Regions from separate parts of the Homo sapiens genome. Here region 2 is linked to region 1. The links are contacts of gene promoters, found by promoter capture Hi-C in blood cells and fetal thymus (Javierre and others, 2016). All regions are on one chromosome and are shown on one strand. The core of a region is centred on a gene start or on the middle of the fragment in contact, and the rest is flanking DNA. Distances in the headings are between cores, read along the strand shown.

What was found. Contacts are between HindIII fragments. The CHiCAGO score rates a contact against its expected background, and 5 or more counts as called.
Region 2: a fragment that was not itself captured here is called in contact with the fragment with the promoter of IMMP1L in region 1 in 7 of 17 cell types (fetal thymus, naive CD4 T cells, total B cells and 4 more); the score reaches 7.8 in fetal thymus.

What each region holds. Positions count from the first base shown.
Region 1 is chr11:31,506,743-31,511,282 of GRCh38, forward strand. It overlaps IMMP1L (inner mitochondrial membrane peptidase subunit 1), which reads right to left and starts at 2,880. Exons shown (of 6, transcript NM_001304274.2): 1 at 2,777-2,880. It overlaps ELP4 (elongator acetyltransferase complex subunit 4), which reads left to right and starts at 3,025. Exons shown (of 10, transcript NM_019040.5): 1 at 3,025-3,265. The coding sequence starts at 3,043. RefSeq lists enhancers at 3,018-3,907, 3,040-3,329. The HindIII fragment of the contact is 1,748 bases long and covers 2,366-4,113 here.
Region 2 is chr11:32,586,607-32,591,488 of GRCh38, forward strand. EIF3M (eukaryotic translation initiation factor 3 subunit M) reads left to right here. Exons shown (of 11, transcript NM_006360.6): 2 at 406-538; 3 at 1,988-2,126; 4 at 2,406-2,529; 5 at 2,941-3,035. Among named protein-coding and RNA genes, the nearest start is that of EIF3M, 5.2 kb to the left of the region's middle. RefSeq lists a silencer at 101-200. The HindIII fragment of the contact is 1,687 bases long and covers 2,052-3,738 here.

The sequences.
Region 1 (4,540 bases), core at 1,630-4,129:
CAAGGTCAAGAGATTGAGACCATCCTGGCCAACATGGTGAAAGCCTGTCTCTACTCAAAATACATAAATTAGCTGGGCATGGTGGTGCATGCCTGTAGTCCCAACTACTCAGGAGGCTGAGGCAGGAGGATCATTTGAACCCAGGAGGCGGAGGTTGCAGTAAGCCGAGATCATGCCACTGCACTCCAGCCTGGCAACAGAGCGAGACTCCGTCTAAAAAGAAAACAAAAAACAAACAAACAAAAAACCCATATTTGGCTGACGCGCTGGCTCACACCTGTAATTCCAGCACTTTGGGAGGCCGAGGTGGGCGGATCACGAGGTCAGGAGACTGAGACCATCCTGGCTAACACGGTGAAACCCCATCTCTACTAAAAATACAAAAAATCAGCAGGGCGTGGTGACGGGCGCCTGTAGTCCCAGCTACTCGGGAGGCTGAGGCAGGAGAATGGTGTGAACCCAGGAAGGCACAGCTTGCAGTGAGCCGAGATCGCGCCACTGCACTCCAGCCCGGGGAACACACCTAGACTCCGTCTCAGAAAAAAAAAACAAAAGCATATTTATCCTACGATAGTGTTATACCAGATATATATCCTAATTTCATGAATACTCTGGTGTGTATATAGATCATCTTTCCAGAATTATAGTCCAAGTCAAAGTTGGAAAATAATTCTTCAGTTCTAGTAATGAGGCAAACAAAGCACCACTATCATCATCTTGGGAAATCTAAAGGGTTAAGTAAATACAGTAGGAAACAAGGGAATATGTAATACAGAAGCCTATAAAAACGAATTATACCATTATGTTAAGTGAAATAAGTCAGACACAGAAAGACAAATATCACATGATCTTACTCATAGGTGGAATCTAATAGTTCATCGCACAGAGAGTACAATGGTGTTTACCAGAGGCCAGGATGGTTGGCAGGGGGGATGGGGAGAATTTGGTCAAAGATACATAATATCAGTTAGATAGGAGGAATAAATTTCAAGAAATCTATTATATAACATGAATTTATAGCAAGCTGACTATAGTTAATAATCATATATTGTATTCTTTAAAAAAATGTAAACAGTGTAGATGTTATGTACTCTTACCACAAAAATGATAACTATGTGAGGTAATGCATTGCTAATTAGCTAGATTTAACGATTCCGGAATGTACATACACTTCATAGCATCATGAGGTACACAAAACAATGCCATCTGTCAAAAAATAATAATTATATGTAGCATTTCAAAAAGTTCACAGCATCAAAAATATTTGTAGGGGTGGGGGGACAGAGAGCATCAGGAAGAATAGCTAATGGATGCTGGGCTTAATACCGAGGTGGTGGGTTGATCTGTGCAGCAAACCACCACAGCACACGTTTACCTATGTAACAAACCTGCACATGAAGCCCAGAACCTAAAACAAAAGTTGAAGAAAAAAAAAATTCAAGACGTTTCTATCTGATATTGGACTGCTTTGTCACTTTTTCTTTTGGTCTTCCTAGTGCTTATTTACTACAGGATAAAATTAGCACATGCTATTTAATGTGTTCATTTTAAGTACTATGTTGTTTTCTATGTGTTAATTTTATCTCCTCCAGGTGAGACCATTTTTATTACCATAGGTCTAAAATGACAAGATTAAGTCCAAACAGACAGTAATCACTCAACAGCTATTTATTGAGTAACTTAAAGATTCAATATGAAAGCAACCTTGATCAAAGCTTTCCAGTTGATATATTGTGAAACAGGGTTTTTTCCTAAACATGATTCTAAAAAACAAGCAAACAAACAAAAATCCTCCCCAAATGAAAAACTCCAGTCACTATTTAGCAATACTAATTTCAATTTATCAAACAGAATCAGCCCAAAAATTTCAACAGGTCAGTGAGATTTAAAACAATTCGATGGCAAGAATTTCAATGAGGTTTGGCTCTAATTAAAAGGTATCACAGATCACTGTCAAAGTCAATAACTCAGTAGTGCGGTAATGATTTGGGAGTCCTTTTCAATTTAGACATTTGTCAATCATGATTGCCTTTAAACATCAGTTACCCACTGTCCCTGCTCAGTTTTGAAAAAAAAATTAAATACAAAAATACAACTCAAAATACATGTTTTTTCCACACATAAAATTGGTATTTTAGTAATAAACTCTCGATTCAGGGTTCATAAAATAAAGTAGGTATACTTCTAATTCTTCCTAGCAGTTTTTTGGGGGAAAGAAACCCTAAGTATTTTCTGTTATTTGCAGCTGCTTTAACAGCAAACGACAATTAAATGTGTGAACAAGGTTGTCAGAGTAACACTTGTCATTTACACCGCTTAGGAAAGACATCCAAGACTTCCAGAAACACTAATTAAAATTAACAAAAGCTTCTTATCGGAACTTGTCAGAGAGCTATAGTTTGTCAGACACAGGAAAACCAGATAGCCTCAAAGTTCAAGAGTTTTCGCTCTAAGGTTTAATTCCAAACCACCTACCACTAGGCACTAACGAACTAAGCCCAGACGCTCAGCAACCAACTCATTAAGGTAAGAGATCCCATCCTTTCCATATAACACAAAATTAAGAAAAAGACATCGTGGGGAAGGCGGAGTGAATTTTCTATCAGAAATCAGAAGATAAATGAGCAGGAAAAAAGTCTATCCTCACACACAGCGGAGAAAGGTGCTAGCAATTGCTTGATAAGCCCTAAGGGTTTATTGTTTCACCAACCTTTTCTTTAACTCAATGTGAATGAAGGCACTCAAAAGGAGAAGAACGTTACGTGATATTACCTACCTCGGGCCCCAAAGAACCCTGGAGACCCTCAACCAGGACACAGGTGGGCCTTTCTCACCTGGGCCCCGCCGAAGTCGACCGTCCTTTCGTAGGGCGCACTTTTCAGCAATACGCCTTCCGATTGGTTGGCTCGGGACTGACGTCTCAGTCCTATTGGTTACGAGAGCCGCGGTTGGGGCGAGGAGGCGGGAGTTTGGCACTGGTTCTGATAGGACGGGTGTTTGCGTTCCCAGAGTTCCTATTGGGTTAACACTGGAGGCTCTAAGATGGCGGCAGTGGCAACCTGCGGTAGTGTTGCCGCGAGTACTGGGTCTGCAGTGGCGACAGCCAGCAAGAGCAACGTCACCAGTTTCCAGAGGAGGGGTCCTAGAGCCAGCGTGACCAACGACAGCGGCCCTCGACTGGTGTCCATTGCGGGCACGCGACCGTCGGTGCGGAATGGACAGCTGCTGGTATCAACCGGGCTCCCAGCCCTAGACCAGCTCTTAGGTCGGTTCAGAGCGGAGATCTGGGCTCAGCCGAGGGGAAACTTAGGGAGGGGACCTGTCGGGGAAGCCACTTTGACCCCACATCTCTTTCTGACCCCTAAACCTTCGGAGGAGGAGAGAATAGCCTGGTCTGATTGAGATGGAGGGGAATACGGGTTGTGTGGAGACTTCTGAGCGCTGTTAACTAAACATGTTTTAGTGCCCTCGCTCTCTATTTCATTCCCTGCCCTCCAACCCCTTTTCATATTACGGAGGAATTCGTACATGCTTTTTACCCTGAAATGCTTTCTAGTCAAGGGAAGACATTAATTTATGGAGATGGTTTGGCTTTCATTCAGGATACCTCCCTTCTGCTTTCTCCAGGCAGCTCACGGTTTAGACCAGCCTGCAAAAGTTTTTATAATTGTGAGAGACAGACTTCATTAGAAGATGCTGGAAAAAAATGATTTCCCCTCTTTGACCGTCAGACTGCCTGTTCTCTGGTTCTAAATCTTAAAACATTTTGGCTTTAAGAGAGCGAATGTTAAAGGCTTATGTTGACACATAATCCTTATAAAGTATTTTGAGCCTGTCGTTGATATTTAGATAGTGTCTGCGTTAAATCTGTGTATATATTTTTTATTTTTTCTATATACATTTTGCTTCCCAGTATTGATTGCTGCTACATTCCATACGACATCTTTAAATTTAACTCACATTTTAACGAGAAAAGTCTAGTTCTTAGGCTTTCCTTTAAAATCTCTGGAATTTTTTATGAGAAGCCTGCTGAAGAATATGCTTGTTTCATAACTGTTATATTCAAAGGAATGACCAGATTAAGTTGGTAGGACAGATTTGCTGTGTTAATAAAGCTTCTAGATTAATTTCTGAATGCTGTTTCATTAAAACCCCGTCTGTGTTTACATAACTTTTTTCATAGTGTGTGATATGTGTCTGTTAAATCTTGTACACTTTCATAAAATATAACTCATTGCTTGTTCTTGTACTTCGTTTGACATTTCTTTCGGTTATTTTCCCCTCAAAGTAGGCTTTTCATAGGTTTAGTGCAGAGAAAGTAAGAAGACCAGCAACCTATGAGAAAGAGTATGGCTTCTTGATTCTCTCATTTCATTTTCCGGTTATTTCTAGATAAGTTTAAGTATTTTTCACTTAATTGTTTCAAATATATTTTCCTCCTGAGTTGCATGGTACTGTAAATAGAAGTGATTCAAAATATCTAGTTAGCAAATATATAGTCCACCGTTTTTCCCTTGTGAGCCTCAGTTGATATCCTCTT
Region 2 (4,882 bases), core at 1,645-4,144, 1.1 Mb after region 1:
GAGAGCAATACTATTGTTCATTTCTTTCAAAAAAATGAAATCTGCCAAGTCAGATTGATTTCTTCTCCCCAGCAACCACACCCCCACCAAACCCTTTGGGTTATATTATCAAAAAGATTTTTGCTGTATGCTGGAAGTCCAGCAGGGTGCAGACTACATGAGAGAAATTCTGAAGGTGATCCATGGGGGCTGTAGTGTGTCTAAGGAGCCACTGGACCTCATGGAGGAAAACCTGTGGCTCTTGTGGGATTGCCAAGATGGATGAGGTGAGGGAGGGGTCTTCAACATTATTTGAAATAGTTGTTGAATACAGTATTTCCGTTTTAGTTTTTCAGAAAGAGGACAGAATTTGAGATTGTGCTTTGTCATTCGTAGTCAGTTTTATAATAGAGCAATCCTCAACAGGCTGCTGAGCTTCGTGCTTATCTGAAATCTAAAGGAGCTGAGATTTCAGAAGAGAACTCGGAAGGTGGACTTCATGTTGATTTAGCTCAAATTATTGAAGCCTGTGATGTGTGTCTGAAGGAGGATGATAAAGGTTTGTTTTTAATTTTTTTCTAATATTTCCTAATAAAATCTTTTAAATTTTTCTTGTGAATTATAGAGTCGTCCCTCATTATCTGAGGCAAGGAGGATTTGGAACCCTCAGATACAGAAGGCTGACTGTATTTATATGTTTTGAATTTCAGACTACAGGACTTTTAAATAGATAGGTAGTGGTTGTATGTATTTTGGGGGCACAGGTGATATTTTGATACATGTATGCAATGTGTAATTATCAAATCAGGGTAATTGGAATATCACACATCTTTTCTTTATGTTGGAAACATTCAACAGTTCTCTTCTAGCTCTTTCAACTATACAATACATTGTTAACCAGAGTCTAAGCACTGTTGTTTTCAATCTTACCTTCACACATGCTTTCAGTTTGTGTAATCTATTATACCTATAAAGTAAACCTATTTTGAGAAAACCTTTATTTTATACATAGGTGTATTTCTTAAGTGTTATTACACTAAATGCTTATAGTCTTAGAATAAAATGAAAAAAATGAAGCTCTTTCCTGTTCATAAGTTTCAGATTAACATCAAATGGGATACAGTTTCAAGTAATCTAATAGCCATTTAATTATTAGGCCAGTTTCCTGTTTATTGAGATAGAATGGGAAATTTTCAGAATTGTTGAGTTCGGAAATCTCTAGTTAAGGTTTAGAGATCAAACTTGGATGCTGATTTCGGCAGCACATATACAAAAAAATTAGATTAAATTTGGGATATGATTAATATCTGTAATACTTAAAAATAACTAATTCAAGCAGAGAGCTGACAGCTTTAATTTCTGATTTCCTATATGTATACACAAAGTTTTCCTTAATTAAGAAAGTATCCTAGTCCTAAATCATACCAGTAACTTCCAAATGATTGAATATCATGACAGTGAAAATTGAAACTTTATATACATGTAAATCAGTCTCTGTTTTACTAGTTAGAAACCACATCATAGGCCAGGCATAGTGGCTCACGCCTGTAATCCCAGCACTTTGGGAGGCCGAGGCAGGTGGATCACATGGTCAAGAGTTCAAGACCAGCCTGGCCAATATGGTGAAACCCCGTCTCTACTAAAAATACAAAAATTAGCCGGGCGTGGTGGCGGGTGCCTGTAGTCCCAGCTACTTGGGAGGCTGAGACGGGAGAATCGCTTGAACCTGGGAGGCGGAGGTTGCAGTGAGCCGAGATCGCACCACTGCACCCCAGCCTGGGCAAGAGAGCAAGACTTCATCTGAAAAAAAAAAAAAAAAAAAAAAAGAAACCACATCTTAGGTATCAATTTCCTTCCTCTTTAATAAAATATACAAGTTGCTTTCTGAATGCGAAAGTGTCTTACATTTGATGGTCTTCATTGTATTAAAACACTGGAAATGCATATTTAACTAGACGCATTGAGTATTGTAGTATCACTGTTGATTGTGTTATCCATACTTGTGTAGATGTTGAAAGTGTGATGAACAGTGTGGTATCCCTACTCTTGATCCTGGAACCAGACAAGCAAGAAGCTTTGATTGAAAGCCTATGTGAAAAGCTGGTCAAATTTCGCGAAGGTGAACGCCCGTCTCTGAGACTGCAGTTGTAAGTTAAGATCTGAAAGAAACTCAGTTTTTCTAGGTGCTTTTTTCATGTTACTAACTTTTAATGGTGCAGAGCAGGAATTCTGGAACTTGACTCTCAGCTGTGGCTCATATTAGCTGTGACCTTGGGCAAGTGGCTTGACCTTTCTGTGCCCTAGTTTCCTCCTTTGTAATATGAAGTTGTTAACGGTACCTGCCACAGGTTTGTGGTGAGAGCTAACCTCAACTTAAAACTGGTTGCTGATTTCAAACATTGTTTATTTGTTTGTTAACCAACCAGGTTAAGCAACCTTTTCCACGGGATGGATAAGAATACTCCTGTAAGATACACAGTGTATTGCAGCCTTATTAAAGTGGCAGCATCTTGTGGGGCCATCCAGTACATCCCAACTGAGCTGGATCAAGTGAGTTACTGTGTGGAATAGTTGTTCTGCTTATAAGAAATGTACTTTTTTTTTTTTTGAGACGGAGTTTCACTGTTGTTGCCCAGGCTGGAGTGCAATGGCGCAATCTCAGCTCACCGCAACCTCCGCCTCCAGGGTTCAAGCAGTTCTCCTTCCTCTGCCTCCTGAGCAGCTGGGATTACAGGCATGCGCCACCACGCCCGGCTAATGTTGTATTTTTAGTAGAGACGGGGTTTCTCTATGTTGGTCAGGCTGGTCTCGAACTCCCGACTTCAGTTGATCCTCCTGCCTTGGCCTCCCAAAGTGCTGGGGATTATAGGCGTGAGCCACCACGCCCAGCCAGAAATGTACTTTTATATGTTATACTTTATATGTGTTACTCAGTTTTCTCCTTTTGTCAATCTCTTGTAGGTTAGAAAATGGATTTCTGACTGGAATCTCACCACTGAAAAAAAGCACACCCTTTTAAGACTACTTTATGAGGCACTTGTGGATTGTAAGAAGAGGTATTCAAAAGTAATGAACTAACATATCACTTAACAGACAGTATAAGTAGGTGGGGATGTTTTTTAAAGAGAAGTAGGGCCAGTAATTTTGCTTTACTCTGTTCTCCACAGAGTTGCTATAAATCTATTTCTATAAATTTGACCTAAAGTTAAAGATAACTATAAAGATTAAAAGTAGTTTTCCCTCATCTTTGAACTTTTTAAAAAGTGAAATTTGGCTTTTTTTCTAAAAAAAGAAAGGTGGGGCCTTTCCAACATGGGCTTCAACCTACTGCTGTAGCATGAGCTTGGTGAATGTGGTGAAGCATCTCATCATTTTTGGATGGTGCAGTGGCAGACTACAAAAAACTTTGTGTTAATGTAAATATTCCATCTCTCCACCCATGTCCTTCCTCTTGCTTATCACACTCTAGACCCAGCGAGCCTATGTCAGGTATAAAAGCACCATGCTCTTTGCCAGTCTGGACCAGGAGCTGGCACTGGTTCTTCTATAGCCCGTGTACTAAGAATGGTTTTAACATTTTTAAATGATTGAGAAAGAAAATCAAAGAAAGGGTAATATTTCATGATATGTGGACATTATATGAAATTCAGATTTCAGGGTCCATAACATTGGTATTACATCCATGCCTATTCATTTACATATTGTCTGTGCCTGCTTTTGCCAAGAGTTTAGTTACAACAGATACCATATAGCTTGCAAAGCTTAAAATATTTACTCTCTGGCCCTTTATAGAACGTTTGCCTACCCCTTGTCTAAGTAGTCTTACTATAGTCAGCTTCATGTCTCTGCCAGAAACACCCCTCTCATATTTCGGTTAGTGCCTCCCTTTTACAGCACCCTCTACTTGTATCCTAGCATTTAACACCCTTAGTTGAAAGTAAGGTTGTAGGCTAAGTGAAGGCAAGGAACCTCATCTGTAAACCATTGCATTCCCAAGAAGATAGCACTTATTGGGCACTGAGTGGATAAATGCTACCCACAGTAGGGAACTGGAAGGGGATACTTGTTTAAACACGACATTTCTGACATTCTGCCAATCTAAATGTTGAGAGTTGGTTTTCTTCTTTAGAACACATAAAATACATATTTTAATCAGTAAAATTCTGAGATTTTACCTAGCAGTTAAGTAAAAATGCTTCAAGTTTATGGGTGCCCCCTTCATGACTTTATTTATATTGGTGGTTGATGCACATGGTGTTTGTTGTGCTTTTTTTTTTTTATTTGAGATGGAGTCTTGCTCTGTCGCCCAGGCTGGAGTGCAGTGGCGCAATCTCAGCTCACTGCGAGCTCCACCTCCCGGGTTCATGCCATTCTCCTGCCTCAGCCTCCTGAGCAGCTGGGACCACAGTTGCCGCCGCCACGCCCGGCTAATTTTTTGTATTTTTAGTAGAGACAGAATTTCACCGTGTTAGTCAGGATGGTCTTGATCTCCTGACCCTGTGATCCTCCCGCCTCCGCCTCCCAAAGTGCTGGGATTACAGGCGTGAGCCACCGCACCAGGCCTGTTGTGCATTTTAAAGGGTGTTACTGGTAACTAAGCCCTTACATGTCAGACACCATGCTGTGTGCTTCAAGTGGATTAAAAAGATTTCTTTAGCTGAGAAGGTTGAAGTATACTGTAGTTGCTAAAACTGGAAAATGACTTGCACCTGTGCTTACAGTGTGGCACAAGATAACTAATGAGTAAGATGTGGTTTTTTAAAAGTTTTTCTTTGAATTTTTATAGTTAAGTCATTATACTTTTTAATTTTAATTTTTATTGCAAAGTTAAAAATTCCTTAGTTTTTTATTCCTGGTACCACTACACTACCATAATTTACAGGGTAACATGCCTGATGTAATG